Linked DNA regions of Homo sapiens: region 2 is linked to region 1. The links are contacts of gene promoters, found by promoter capture Hi-C in blood cells and fetal thymus (Javierre and others, 2016). All regions are on one chromosome and are shown on one strand. The core of a region is centred on a gene start or on the middle of the fragment in contact, and the rest is flanking DNA. Distances in the headings are between cores, read along the strand shown. Region 1 holds the start of ARFGAP2 (ARF GTPase activating protein 2). Region 2 has its middle 4.4 kb from the start of RAPSN.

What was found. The method cuts DNA at HindIII sites, captures the fragments that hold promoters and counts their contacts. A CHiCAGO score of 5 or more calls a contact.
Region 2: a fragment that was not itself captured here is called in contact with the fragment with the promoter of ARFGAP2 in region 1 in 1 of 17 cell types (naive B cells); the score reaches 5.8 in naive B cells.

Annotation. Positions count from the first base shown.
Region 1 is chr11:47,172,132-47,179,271 of GRCh38, reverse strand. ARFGAP2 (ARF GTPase activating protein 2) reads left to right here and starts at 2,393. Exons shown (of 16, transcript NM_032389.6): 1 at 2,393-2,490; 2 at 2,638-2,756; 3 at 3,349-3,421; 4 at 3,959-4,090; 5 at 4,174-4,257; 6 at 5,432-5,513; 7 at 5,790-5,846; 8 at 6,939-6,991. The coding sequence starts at 2,419. It overlaps PACSIN3 (protein kinase C and casein kinase substrate in neurons 3), which reads left to right. Exons shown (of 11, transcript NM_016223.5): 8 at 1-113; 9 at 242-378; 10 at 785-906; 11 at 1,226-1,750. The coding sequence ends at 1,341. RefSeq lists enhancers at 1,266-1,315, 1,396-1,445, 1,293-1,874, 2,416-2,645 and a silencer at 1,936-2,365. The HindIII fragment of the contact is 14,588 bases long and covers 1-7,140 here.
Region 2 is chr11:47,450,005-47,457,144 of GRCh38, reverse strand. No RefSeq gene overlaps it. Among named protein-coding and RNA genes, the nearest start is that of RAPSN, 4.4 kb to the right of the region's middle. RefSeq lists an enhancer at 1,233-1,732. The HindIII fragment of the contact is 3,355 bases long and covers 1,852-5,206 here.

The sequences.
Region 1 (7,140 bases), core at 1,144-3,643:
AACTCCACCGTGACTTGCACCAGGGCATTGAGGCAGCCAGTGACGAAGAGGATCTGCGCTGGTGGCGCAGCACCCACGGGCCAGGCATGGCCATGAACTGGCCACAGTTCGAGGCATGTGTTCCAGGCGGGGTGGGGATGGGAGGTGGGATGGGCTCCCACTCAGCTCGGCCAGGGCTAGGGATGAAGTAAGTGAAGGTGGTTCAGATGGCCCCACCTGACTATAAGCACTGTCCCCACAGGAGTGGTCCTTGGACACACAGAGGACAATCAGCCGGAAAGAGAAGGGTGGCCGGAGCCCTGATGAGGTTACCCTGACCAGCATTGTGCCTACAAGAGATGGCACCGCACCCCCACCCCAGTCCCCGGGGTCCCCAGGGTGAGAGCCAGGAGCGCGGCTGTGGCAAAGAAACAGCTCTGCCTCCCGCCCTCCTTTCCTTTCTCCTTGGTTTCATTTCTTTCACACCTGAAATGGGTTGAAAATTGGTGCCAGGGACCTGAGGGCCTACTTAGTAGTTGTAATGATACTGGTTCTCATAGTGGTTTAGATTTGCTGGGCATTTCCCACATTCCCTCTCGTTTATGCCTTAAATCAGCTGCGTGTGGCAGGAATTGCCTCTTTGCTCACAGTCGGGCATGGCGAGGTAGAGCTAGAATCTTTAGTACCTCACCTGACTCTCCCAGGTGCCTCTGGGGGTAGGGAGGCCTTTGCCCTGATCCTGGGTGAGATCTCCAGCCCCGTGTTCCTTGCACTCTGAGCTGCTCCCTTTGCCTCCCCTCTCCAGCACGGGGCAGGATGAGGAGTGGTCAGATGAAGAGAGTCCCCGGAAGGCTGCCACCGGGGTTCGGGTGAGGGCACTCTATGACTACGCTGGCCAGGAAGCTGATGAGCTGAGCTTCCGAGCAGGTACCCTGGGACCCCTTTCCTAGCTTCAGCCTCTGCCTTATCTGCCTGAGCAGGGGTGTCAGAAAGGGAAGCCAAATACCCACTTCTTAAGGGCCAGTCCTCTGTCCCTTCAGCTGTTCCAGGTCCAGATAGCTGGTGCCTGGTGGCTGCATTCAGGGTCTGGGGTGGGGCAGCTTGCTGACCTTGACCTGCCTCTGCCTGAGCCATGTCTTTGCTAGCTGGGCTCTGGGACCACACCATCCCCCTCAGTCCTTGACCCAGTTGCAGGAACAGGGCCTGGGCCAGGGCCACTGGCAGTGACCAATCCCCTTTCCCCCAGGGGAGGAGCTGCTGAAGATGAGTGAGGAGGACGAGCAGGGCTGGTGCCAAGGCCAGTTGCAGAGTGGCCGCATTGGCCTGTACCCTGCCAACTACGTGGAGTGTGTGGGCGCCTGAGTGTCCTGACAGCCCTTCTGCAACGTTTACCCACCCTGGTTCAGAGCCCAGCTTCTCCTGGAGAGCCGGACCCTCAGGGCCCTGAACCGTCGCTCTCTGGCTGCTCCTCTGTCCCTTGAGGGAGGAAGTCCTGGGACCCAGGGAGGGGAGGGGCCTTTGTCTAGGGAAGGGACTGGTAGGGAAGGGACGAGTCTAGGCTGAGGGCAAGATGGGAGGTCAGAGGTGACAGAAGCGTTCAGGGGTGCCTGGGCCTCCCCAGGAGCTGTGGACTCAGTTCCTGACCTCTGCTTTGGGGTTCCTGGGGTGGGCTTGGGGTGAGTGTAGTTCTGGCCTAGCAGCACCCTCTTGTGGCTTGTTCTAGCGTGTATTAAAACTTGACACACACCCACACACAAAAACAAAAACACCACTGTCGGGCTCATGTGCATTTTTTTGATAGGACACCCTTGCCAGGCCACCAGAGGGCATCTAGAGAGAGGCCTAGCGTCTGTTATGGGGCCGGGGTTGGAAAAGGGTTTGCCTGCTTGGTACCTGCTCTGGAACTTCGAGATACTAATCTGGAGTGGAGGGGACTCGCTGTCAGGCTTGCTGTTAACCGAGAACGGCTGAAGGCTGGGCGAGACGCGGGCCAATGCGTCTGCCCGTTCGGGCCGGAGGGACGAGGAGTGTTTGGGCAGCCTAATCCTTATTCATCGATCTGTAATTAGCTGGAGTGGGGGTCCCCGCCCCCAGCCTCCCGCAGCCTGCGCGGCGTGGGGGCGACTCCACCTGGGGGTTGCGGCGTGGGAGGGGCGGGGGGAAGGGTACTACGCGCGCGAGGAGGTTTGGGCCGGTCCGCGCGCCGTCGCCCCGCCCCGGCTGCGGATTGGCCCGGCGCGGCGTTGATTCTTGCGGCCGCGGTTGTCGTCGCCGCCCCCGTCCCGCCGGCTGCCCATTGGTCCAGATCGGACTCCAATCACCCCACCCCTCGGCTGGCCCAGGCACCGCTGAGGCCGGCCTGGTGAGCCCGCCCTCCCCGCCGTGGATTGGCCCGCGGCGGGACCCGTCAGCCGCGGTTGTGTCTGGGAAGGAGAGAAAATGGCGGCGGAGCCGAACAAGACCGAAATCCAGACTCTTTTTAAGAGGCTTCGCGCAGTTCCAACCAACAAGGTGCGTGAGCAGGGGGCGCGCGGAGTCTCTCGTCCCGCTGGGGCCTGAGGGAGGGAGAAGGGCGGAGGTGGGTTATGTTTCTGGGGTGTCGGTGCCTGGCCTTTACTCGGGGCCCCTGACGATTCGCTCATCGCCGCCTCCACCCAGGCCTGTTTCGACTGCGGCGCCAAGAATCCGAGTTGGGCCAGCATCACGTACGGTGTTTTCTTGTGCATTGACTGTTCCGGGGTGCACCGCTCCCTGGGCGTCCATCTGAGCTTCATCAGGTAGGCTCTCCGCGCGGTTGCCGTGTTTCCACCCGGCCGGCCAGGGGTGTCTGGGCAACAAGGGAGAGTGGCTGCCTCGACTTGGGCCGCTCTGAATTCGGTGGGAAGCCTCTGGGCCGAGAGGGTCCGGTAGCCTCCTGCCAGAGGGAACCACCTGTGTGGGCCCTTTGGCACATGGGCGGTCCGTCTCCGCCTCTGGGCCAAAACTTCCTCTTTTTTGACGGTCAGGCTTGAGACTCTGAGCGTTAGTTGAGGGGAAAGGGAGGCATTGACCTTGTTGTTGCTGATATGTTGTTAGACCAGTATGTCTCTAGTGAGACTGTGACCATCCATTAGGGGAAAGCCAAATCCAGGCGTGCGTGCCTGAGAATGTGACCTCCTTTCGGATCTGGGGACATAATTAGTACTCTTTGGAGTAAATGAACGAAGAGGAGAGTTTTCATGGACAGGGTAGTGTGGAGGAAATGGGGTGATGGCTGATTAATGTTTCCTGGGTGCCTACAGCAGCCTGAGGCCAAGTGACAGGTATCCGGGTTGCCAGGGAAATCCTGCTGGTATCTGCTAGTGGGTGAGACGCAGCCCTTGTACACAGGTCCACAGAGTTGGATTCCAACTGGAACTGGTTCCAGCTGAGGTGTATGCAGGTCGGCGGGAATGCCAATGCGGTAAAGCTCCTTCTACTTCCCTCACCTTCCATTCTTCTGCCTGGTTACTAACTTTGCACGACTCCCTAAGAGGCCCTGTCGTTTTCCCTGTTCAGAGGGTTCTCTGTTCTATAACACCACCATAAGCTATTTTCTGAAAACTTCGAAACTGGTCACAGCTTCTCTTAAATGGGTTTCAGATTCCAATTAAACTGGGCAGGTGTTCTTGGGGAAAAGCCACAGGAGTTGGGAGCCTTCACAGTCATTGGGTCTTGTGGGCCTGCCCTGGATGAAGGATGGGGAGGCTGGGTATGGGATGTTGTGCTCAGGCAGCGTTCAGTGGGGCCTGGACTTCAGTCATATCAGAGGATGGCCCGCTGCAAGGTGTTTTTTGCAGGAATTTCGAGAAACTTTATCTCTGAAAAACCGGTGTCAGTAGCGTGTATCATCCTGTATAGATAATAACTTCGCTGTCATAAGGAGATGTCTCCTACAGCCAACACGTTTCCTTCTTGAGAATCACCCGTAGCACGCGCTGCTCTCTTCTTTGCTCTCCAGACGGCTTTTTTTCGCCAACATGGATGCACAGCCAATGATGCCAACACCAAATATAATAGCCGAGCTGCCCAGATGTACCGGGAGAAGATCCGGCAGCTGGGGAGTGCGGCCCTGGCTAGGCATGGCACTGATGTAAGTGCCTGTTCTTGGGGCTGGGGCAGGAGGGTTAGGAGTATTCAGAGCCCTGTGTTTTAGGGGTGTCTTCTCCTTTCTAGCTTTGGATAGACAACATGAGTAGTGCCGTTCCTAATCACTCCCCAGAGAAGAAGGACTCTGATTTCTTCACAGAACACACTCAAGTGAGTGCCCACAAGGAACCGTTTTCCCAGTTGTTCTTGACAGGCAATTTACCAAGGCCCAGGCCTTCTGTGATCATGGTTGTAGATTCCATTTGCTTTGATGTGATGTCTTGGACACCACGTATGAAGTCCACTGTTCCTGCTGGGTAGGCCTAGGTGTTTCCTCCTCCATAAATGGAGGTGCAGTGTAGCCCTCCTTAGAAATCGACTCCTATAAATTGGGCTGGCGGGGAAGAGAGGCAGCTTCTTGAAGTTTCAAGAGGTGTCCGGTGCCCCAAACAAATTTTCCTGGATTCTTCCCCTATAAGAAAGGCACTGTGGGCCGGGCGCAGTGGCTCACGCCTGTAATCCCAGCACTTTGGGAGGCCGAGGCGGGTGGATCATGAGGTCAGGAGATCGAGACCATCCTGGCTAACAAGGTGAAACCCCGTCTCTACTAAAAATACAAAAAATTAGCCGGGCGCGGTGGCGGGCGCCTGTAGTCCCAGCTACTTGGGAGGCTGAGGCAGGAGAATGGCGTGAACCCGGGAAGCGGAGCTTGCAGTGAGCCGAGATTGCGCCACTGCAGTCCGCAGTCCGGCCTGGGCGACAGAGCGAGACTCCGTCTCAAAAAAAAAAAAAAAAAAAAAAAAAAAAAAAAAAAAAAAGGCACTGTGCTTGGGGACAGTGAAAGGATTCTCTCCTCCCCGCCCCACCCCTTTGAGGAGGGTTTCCTCTTTACTGGCCCTGGGTGCTGAAGTTAGACTCTTGGCTTCAATTCCTGTTCTCTACTCCGCATTCCTGTGATGGTGGCCAAGTCACTCAACCTGTCAAAACCTCAGTTTCTAAAATGGCGATGTAGCTCCTTCATAGGGGTTGTAGTGATAATTAAATATATTCATATATGAGGAGCCTTTAGATCTGTGCCTGCCTAGGTGGTGGTAGTTAACTGTCTTTAAGTTAGGAGAATGGGCTCTGGCTCTAAGTAAATAGTGAAGGGGTTGGGGTGGGGGCTGCTTGTCTTCCTGCTTTCTTCCACAGTGAATAGCAACTGTGATCTTGTTTGCTACCCTCCAGTCCCTTTCCTCATGGGTTTGGAGTATGATTTCTTGTCCACAAGGTGCTTGTAGGTCTTGGTGCTTCTTGCCAGCAGGAGTGGCTCACCGAGGCATCTGTGATCTGGCCTCCTTTTCAGCCCCCTGCCTGGGATGCGCCAGCCACTGAGCCTTCAGGGACCCAGCAGCCAGCCCCGTCTACAGAGAGCAGTGGCCTGGCACGTGAGTTCAGCCCAGATTCCAACCAGGTGCCCTGGTCCTAGGAGAGGACTCAGGGTTTGGAAGGGGACATCTGGCCATGACAATAGGAGCAGGGGTCCTCCTGTATCTTTGGGTGGGCCGGGATTCATTTTAATCCTTGGAGGAAGTGGTAGATATTCCTTTTATCTTTTGGTGGCAAGCTGAGGAAAGCCACCGATTCTTGTCCCATCACTTCTTTCAAGGGGAGGTTGCAGGAAGCTAGGAGCTCATCTCTAACTCCTACCATTGCATCCACAGAGCCGGAGCATGGCCCCAACACAGACCTGCTTGGCACCTCACCCAAAGCCTCACTGGGTCAGTATGCCAGCGGGCAGGCGTGGGGTGTCTGGGAGAGGGTGGACCTCAAATGTTCTTTTCAGAGGTCCTACTGCCTGGCCGTGTGGACAGAGGCCACAGGAGACTGAGCATCTATCTGATTCTCTGGAGTGGGGACTGTGATTGAAATAGTGGATGCAACACTGATTTTAGAGCCAAGCCCTTTGAATTGATGAATCTGGGTGGGCTGGTGTATAAGGCCTGGGGTCTGCCTCTGAGTGTGGGGCTGGGTCTAGCCAAAGTGTTGGGGAGGCCAGCATGAGACTGGACACCTATCCCTGGGCTCTGAGGCAGGGCTGGCTTGTCTGGTGCATTTCCGGGGGTGGAGGGACAGCTCTGAGCTGCCGAAGGCTGGAGGTGACATTGTTCTTTCTCAGCCAGTACCCCAGCCTGTCCTTTAACTCTTTCCTACATTTTCCTTAGTGTCTTTCAGACTTGGTTCAGGGCGAACAGTCCATTTGCTGACCTCGGTTTGTTCTGTTGACTCTTGGGGGTTGGGGCTGGAACCCAGCAGAGTGACTGTCAGACTGATCCATGAGAAGGCTGGCATAGCTTGGTCTGAAGCAGGGCTTCATAGAGACCGCTGGGCTTGGGAGCTCTGTGGAGGCTCTGGGGTGGGCCTCTTGTTAGCCACAAGTCTGTTTCTCCTCCAGAGTCCGTGTATCTGTCAGCTAAAGGGGCCCTTCCTGCCAGAGGTAACTGACAGCTGCTTGGGGAGCCCAGCCCCTGTTCTCAGCTTCCTGCTTTAGAAGCGGAGCCTGGTGCTCACCATATGCTCCCTGCCTCGCAGTCTTTGTTTTGGTTCAGGGAATTTGGACGTCTCTGGTGCTTCGGACGTCTCTGGTGCTTCAGGTCTAGGTTCCTGTCTCACTCTGCTGGGTGCCAGTAAATACCCCAGCCACGTCTGTCTTTGGCTTTGACACCGCTGGTTGGAGCTGGTGGTGGCAGCTTTGCCTTCCCTTGCCTGAAGCTGTTCTTAGGAGCTCTTGCCATGAAGCTGCATGGTGTATACTGAGCTACTGCCTCTGAGCTGCCTTTGTCTTAGCTCATGCCTACCCGTTTCTCACGCAGAACTGAAAAGCTCCATCATTGGCAAGAAGAAGCCAGCAGCAGCTAAGAAAGGGGTAGGTGGGGAGAGGTGGTATGGTAGAGGGGTTAGGAGCTGGGTGCAGGCTACCTGGGTTCACTCCTTGACCTTACCACTTACCAGCTATATGACTTTGGCAAAGGTACTGTGTTTCTCCGAACCTCGCCTGTGAAAGGGATTTAAAGA
Region 2 (7,140 bases), core at 2,280-4,779, 280 kb before region 1:
AAAAGGCCAGGTGCGGTAGTTCATGCCTATAATCCCAGTACTTTAGGAGGCCAAGGCGGGTAGATCACGAGGTCAGGAGATCCAGACCATCCTGGCTAACACAGTGAAACCCTGTCTCTACTAAAAATACAAAATATTAGCCGGGTGTGTTGGCAGGCACCTGTAGTCCCAGCTACTCAGGAGCCTGAGGCGGGAGACTAGCTTGAACCCGGGAGGCGAAGCTTGCAGTGAGCTGAGATCGCGCCACTGCACTTCAGCCTGGGTGACAGAGTGAGACTCCGTCTCAAGAATAATAATAATAATAAAATAAAAATCACACCGTAATATACAGAATGTTTTGCAGCTTGTTTTTTTTTTTTTTTTTTTTTTAGAAGGAGTCTCACTCTTGTTAGCCAGGCTGGAGTGCAGTGGCACGATCTCGGCTCACCGCAACCTCTGCCTCCCGGGTTCAAGCGATTCTCCTGCCTCAGCCTCCTGAGTAGCTGGAATTAACAGGTGCCCGCCACCATGCCCAGCTAATTTTTTGTATTTATTAGAGACCAGGTTTCACCATGTTGGTCGGGTTGGTCTTGAACTCCTGACCTCAGGTGATCCACCTGCCTCGGCCTCCCAAAATGCTGGGATTACAGCCGTGAGCCACCACGCCCAGTCTGCAGCTTGCTTTTTTAAGTTACTATGCCCTGGGCTCCCTTCCATCTGGGTACACAGGTATCTACTGCTTCCTTATTTAGAGTCTACATAGCACTTCATGGTTATGAACACCCTTCTATCAGACACAGATTCTTTCTAGTTTTTCACTACCGTAAATAATAAGCCAATAGAGGGATGTTAGTTCAATGGCTTCTTTTCAAAGCAAGTTATCTTATCATCTCATTTGATTTTCACAGAAAACTTGCCAGAGAGGTGATATCTTTTTTTTTTTTTTTTGGAACAGAGTCTCGCTCTATCGCCAGGCTGGAGCGTAGTGGTGCAATCTCTACTCACTGCAACCTCCGCCTCCCGGGTTCAAGCGATTCTCCTCCTTCAGCCTCCCACGTAGCTGGGACTACAGGCACGCACCACCACGCCAGCTAATTTTTGTATTTTTAGTAGAGACAGGGTGTCACCATGTTGGGCAGGATGGTCTCAATCTCTTGACCTTGTGATCCGCCTGCCTCAGCCTCTTAAAGTGCTGGGATTACAGGCGTGAGCCACCACGCCCGGCCAATATCTTTTTAATTGGGGAAACTAACTTGGTAAGATGGGGAGACTTCCCAAGAATCCCGATAGTCGTGGTAGAGGGACCTTGGGACTGTCCCCTTCAGTTACATTTCGTCATGCATCTGGAGCAGGGGCTGCAACTGTGATGTACTCATGTGAAAGGAGGCCAGCATAAGACAAGTGGCATTTGGCTTCAGTGTCAAGGCGAGAACAGGGAGTCAGGGGTGCATGGTTCCAATGAATGAATTGGTAAGACATTCATGGTCTCTTGGGGCCAGACCCCGACCACTGGAGTGGTTGGTAGGCAGTCAAGGTCTGAGCATGCGTGAGTTTCCACTTTTTTTTTTTTTTTTTTTTTTTTTGAGACAGAGTTTTCCTCTTGTCACCCAGGCTGGAGTGCAATGGCACAATCTCGGCTCACTGCCACCTCCACCTCCCAGGTTCAAGCAATTCTCGTGCCTCTGCCTCCTGAGTAGCTGGGACTACAGGTGCATGCCACCATGCCTGGCTAATTTTTTGTATTTTCCATGGAGACAAAGTTTCATCATATTGGCCAGGCTGGTCTCGAACTCTTGAGCTCAGGTGATCTGCCCGCCTCAGCTTCCCAAAGTGCTGGGACTACAGGAGTGAGCCCCTGCACCAGGCCAAGCTTCCACTCTTCAAGAGAAGCAAGGAAATGTACATTTTTATGTAAAATCTCCTAGATAACACATGTTGCCAACCAACTCAGAAATATTTAGTCCTCACATGCCAGATTGTGACTCTTGCTTCAGGCCCAAACTTAATTTTCTACTTTTGATTATAAAACAGGGATCTAAAATGTGAGGTGTGCAGCTGGTACCTGGCCCAGCAGGCACTCTGGTGATAGCCCTGAATCCCCCGACTGTATCACCACCTTGTGAGGTTAAGTGGCACTGAAAAGACCATTTCATTTTGTGGCTGTTCCCTAACACCTTCCAGGGCTTTTCATCTACTGGGCACTGGTAAGCAAGTCTTAACTCTTTACCCTCTCCTTAATACATGCCTTCTGCCCACCCAGGCTACAGCTTTGGATAAGTTCCCAGTGACTTTGCTGTGCTTCAGGTAAAGATCGCAATGAATTCCGGAAAACTATTGTTCTGTTCTCCACTTTCTCCATCTCCCTTGTCCTCGCCTCCTTTCTAGTACAGTATAATGGTTAAGAATGGGAGTCCTGGCCAGGTGTGTTGGCTCACACCTGTAATCCCAGCACTTTGGGAAGCCGAGGCAGGCATATCACCTGAGGTCAGGAGTTCGAGACCAGCCTGGACAACATGATGAAAGCCCGTCTCTACTAAAAATACAAAAAAAAAAAAAAGCCAAGAGTGGTGGCACGTACCTATAATTCCAGCTACTCAGGAGGCTGAGGCATGAGAATCGCTTGAACCCGGGAGGTGGAGGTTGCAGTGAGCCAGGATTGCGCCACTGCACTCCAGCCTCGGCAACAGAGCTAGATTCCATCTCAAAAAAAAAAAAAAAAAGAACGAGACTCTACAACCACACTGCTTCTGGTCCCAGCTGTCTAGGACCAGCAGATGGCAGTGTAGTCTTGGGCAGGTCACCTTACCTCTCCATGCCTGTTTCCTCATTTGTAAACTGGAAGAAATGCTTAACTCAGAAAATGTTAGAATGTTAAATAGGATTCTCTGTTGGTCTCCTCTTACCTTGCCAGGGGCCGTGCCGTTAGTTACTAGTAGTACAAAGACAAGTAAACCACAGTCGTTGCCATAGAGGAGCATGCCCTTAACCTAACTACAGTCGCTGATTTCTGGAAAACGTGCTCAGAAATGAAATTTTTGAGGCCGGGCATGGTGGCTCACGGGAGGCTGAGGCGGGCAGATCACTTAAGGCCAAAAGTTCGAGACCAGCCTGGCCAACATGGTGGAACCCCGTCTCTACTAAAACTGCAAAACTTAGCCAGGTGTAGTGGTGCTCGCCTGTAATTCCAGCTTCTTGGGAGGCTGAGGCAGGAGAATTGCTTGAACCCAGGAGGCAGAGGTTGCAGTGAGCCGAGATCCCACTGTGTCCGCAGTTGGTTCCTTCTAGTGGGTTCGTGGTCCCGCTGACTTCAAGAATGAAGCCGTAAACCTCTGTGGTGAGTGTTACAGCTATTAAAGGTGGTGCAGACCCAAAGAGTGAGCAACAGCAAGATTTATTGTGGAGAGCAAAAGAACAAAGCTCCCACAGCGTGGAACGGAACCTAAGCGGGTTTCTGCTGCTGGCTTGTTGGGGTGGGGATGGGCTGGTCGGGGAGGCAGCTTTTATTCCTTTATTTGTCTCCACCCATGTCCTGCTGATTGGCCCATTTTACAGAGCACTGATTGGTCCATTTTACAGGGTGCTGATTGGTCCATTTTACAAATCTCCAGCTAGCTACGGAGCACCGATTGGTGTGTTTTTACAGAGCACTGATTGGTGCATTTTACAAACCTCTAGTTAGCTACAGAAAAGTTCTCCTAGTCACCACTCCACCCAGGAAGTCCAGCTGGCTTCACCTCTCACCACCACGGGCACTCCAGCCTGGGCGACAAGAGTGAAAAACTCCATCTCAAAAAAAAAAATAATAATAAAGAAGAAATGAAATGTTTCAAGGAAACATAAGGTACTCTGCTACCTAGAATAAGCGAGTATGGGCATATTCCCATCACTGAAGTCAGATGAGCAAAGACCTGTCTCAGGGAAAGGACAGCTTGATCCCATCAAGTTTTCAAGTTTTGAGGTCATTTGAGTTCCCCAGGAAAGAGGAAGGCTGTGGTCCCCAACTCTGTTGGGGTGTAGATGCAGGCCGCCCTTCCTCCATTCCTTCCTGCCAGAGACTCAATGTGAATAGTGTCTGGGCCTTGGAGTGGGGAGAATCTGCTGGCCCTTCACACCTTCGCTGTGGGCCCAGCTTCCCTCCCATCTGCAGCTCAGCATCAACCCAGGCCTCCCTGAGATGAGAGAAGACCCCAGCCAGCTCTCCCTCCCTTTCCCAGGCTTAGGAGCACTCCTTTGGGGAGTCCAGGTGGCCTTGCCCAGCCACCTGTCCCAGAGCCTGCTCCCACTCTGCCTCTGTTGAGCCTGGGGCATTTGCCTTCTGACCCCCAGAGCGTCCCCTCTGACCCGTTGGGCTCTCAGGAAGCAGGCCGTGTAGTTGCTCTGAATTTCCCGGTGAAGCCGTCTTTCCTCCGCTTCTTCCCCATTCACCGATATTTGACATTTATTGAGGGGCCACAGTGTGCCGGGCCTTGCTCTGGGAATACAGTCAGTAATGAAGGAGACAAAGTCCTGCCCTGGGTTAGGGCCCAGCCATATGACCTCATTTGAGTGAAGAATAAAGACATTCAGCAAACAACCTCACTAATATAAAATTATAGAGAGGCTGGGCGTGGTGGCTCACGCCTGTAATCCCAGCACTTTGGGATGCCCAGGCCAGCGGATCACTTGAGCACAGGAGTTCAAAACCAGCCTGGCCAACATGGTGAAACCCCGTCTCTACTAAAAATATAAAAATTAGCTGGGCATGGTGGCATTGCCTGTAATGCCAGCTACTTGCGAGGGTTGAGGTGGGAGGGTGGCTTGAGCCCAGGAGGTCGAGGCCTCAGTGAGCCTAGATTGTACCACTGCACTCCAGCCTGGGCGACAAAGTGAGACCCTGTCTCAAAATAAAATTATAGAGATAAGTCCTGTATCAGAATGCAGTGTAATTCAATGAGAGGATAATATGCTGATTCATCCTAATTATGACTTACGAGGCAGAGTGTGGGTGTGGTGAACAGAGAAGGAATTAGGAGGTGCAAAGGCCCTGGGGCAGACAGGTAGGCAGGTACCAGAATGTAACAGTTGCCATATTACTCACACTTCTGCTCCAAGCATATACCTAAGAGAAATGAAAACATGTCCCCATAAAACCTAGTACATGAATTTTTTATTTTTTTGAAACAGGGTCTCGCTCTGTCACCCAGGCTGGAGTGTAGTGACATGATTGCGGCTCACTGCAGTCCAAGCTTGTAGGCTCAAGCGATTCTCCTGCCTCAGCCTCGCGAGTAGCTGGGACCACAGCTGTGCACCACCACACCCAGCTAATTTTTTTTTTTTTTTGTATTTTTTGTAGATATGGGGTCTCGCTATGTTTCCCAAGCTGGTCTCCAACTCCTGGGCTCAAGTGATCTGCCTGCTTCAGCCTCCTAGTGTGCTGGGATTACAGGCGTGAGCCACCGTGCCCAGCCCAATTTGTACATGAATTTTTATAGCATCATTATTCATAGTAGCCAAAAATGAAACAACCCAAATGCCTATTAACTGCTGAATCAACAAAATGTATATCCAGACAATGAGTATTAACCAACCACAATAAGTAATGAAGTTCTGATACGGTTGAAAACATAGTTGAATCTTGAAAACATTATGCCAAGTTAAAGAAGCCAGTCACAGATGACCACATATTGTATGATTCCATTCCTGTGAAGGGTCCACAATAGACAGGTCCATAGACACCAGGTGGCTTAAATAACAGAAATTTATTTTCTCACAGTTCTGGACGCTAGAAGTCCAAGATCAAGGAATTGGCAGAGTTGGTTTCATTCTAAGGCCTTGCTCCTGGGCTTGTAGATAGCCATCTTCTCCCTGTGTCTTCACGTGCTCTTCTTCTGTGTGACTGTGTCCTTTTTAAACATTTATTGTGGGCCAGGTGCGGGGGCTCACGCCTGTAATCCCAACACTTTGGGAGGCAGAGGTGGGCAGATCATGAAGTCAGGAGTTCCAGACCAGCCTGACCAACATGGTGAAACCCCGTCTCTACTAAAAATACAAAAATTAGCCAGGTGTGGTGGTGCGCAGCTGTAATCCCAGCTACTCAGGAGGCTGAGGCAGGAGAATCACTTGAACCTGGGAGGTGAAGGTTGCAGTGAGCCAAGATGGCACCACCACACTCCAGCCTGGGTGACAGAGGGAAAGTGTCTCAAAAAAAAAAAAAAGTATTGTGGTCAGGCATGGTGGCTCACGCCTATAACCCCAATACTTCGGGAGGCTCTGAGGCAGGTGGATCAACTGAGGTCAGAAGTTCAAGACCAGCCTGACCAACATGGTGAAACCCCGTCTCTACTAAATACAAAAACTTAGCCAGGCGTGGTGGCATACACCTGTCATCCCAGCTACTTGGGAGGCTGAGGCAGGAGAATTGCTTGAACCCGGGAGGTAGAAGTCTCAGTGAGCTGAGATTGTGCCACTGCACTCCAGCCTATGCAACAAGAGCAAAACTCCGTCTCAAAAATAATTTTTAAAAATAAAAATTTATTGTTTATTTATTTTTTGAGACAAGGTCTTGCTCTGGTGCTCAGGCTGGAGTGCAGTGGCACAATCACGGCTCACTGAAACCTCCACCTCCAGGAGTTCAAGACCAGCCTGGGCAACATGGTGAAACCCATCTCTACAAAAACTAGACAGCTGTGGTCTCAGCTACCCAGGAGACTGAGGTGGGAGGGTCACTTGAGCCTAGGAGGTAGAGGTTGCAGTGAGCTGTGACTGCACCACTGCACTCCAGCCTAGGTGACAGAGTGAGACCCTGTCTCAAAAAAAAGGGGGGGGGGATACCAGTCTTAACTGGATGAGGTACAATGTGACTTCATTTTACCTTAATCACCCTTTAAAGACCCTGTCTCCAAAGACAGTCACCTTATGAGATACTGAGTGTTAGGACTTAAACATATGCGTTTGGTTGCGGGGGGACATGATTCAGTCATATCAAGGTGGGGAATGGAGTGGTGTAACTGCTGATGGGTGTGCGTCTCCTTTTTGGGGTGGTTAAAATGTTCTGGAATTAGTGGCAATTAATGTGCATCTCTGTGAATATACTAAAAACCACTGAATTGCCCAGCCAGAAAGGATAAACTTTTGCCCTGGGGCAGGAAGAAGGCTGGCATGCAGAGAGAGGAGAAAGGGGGG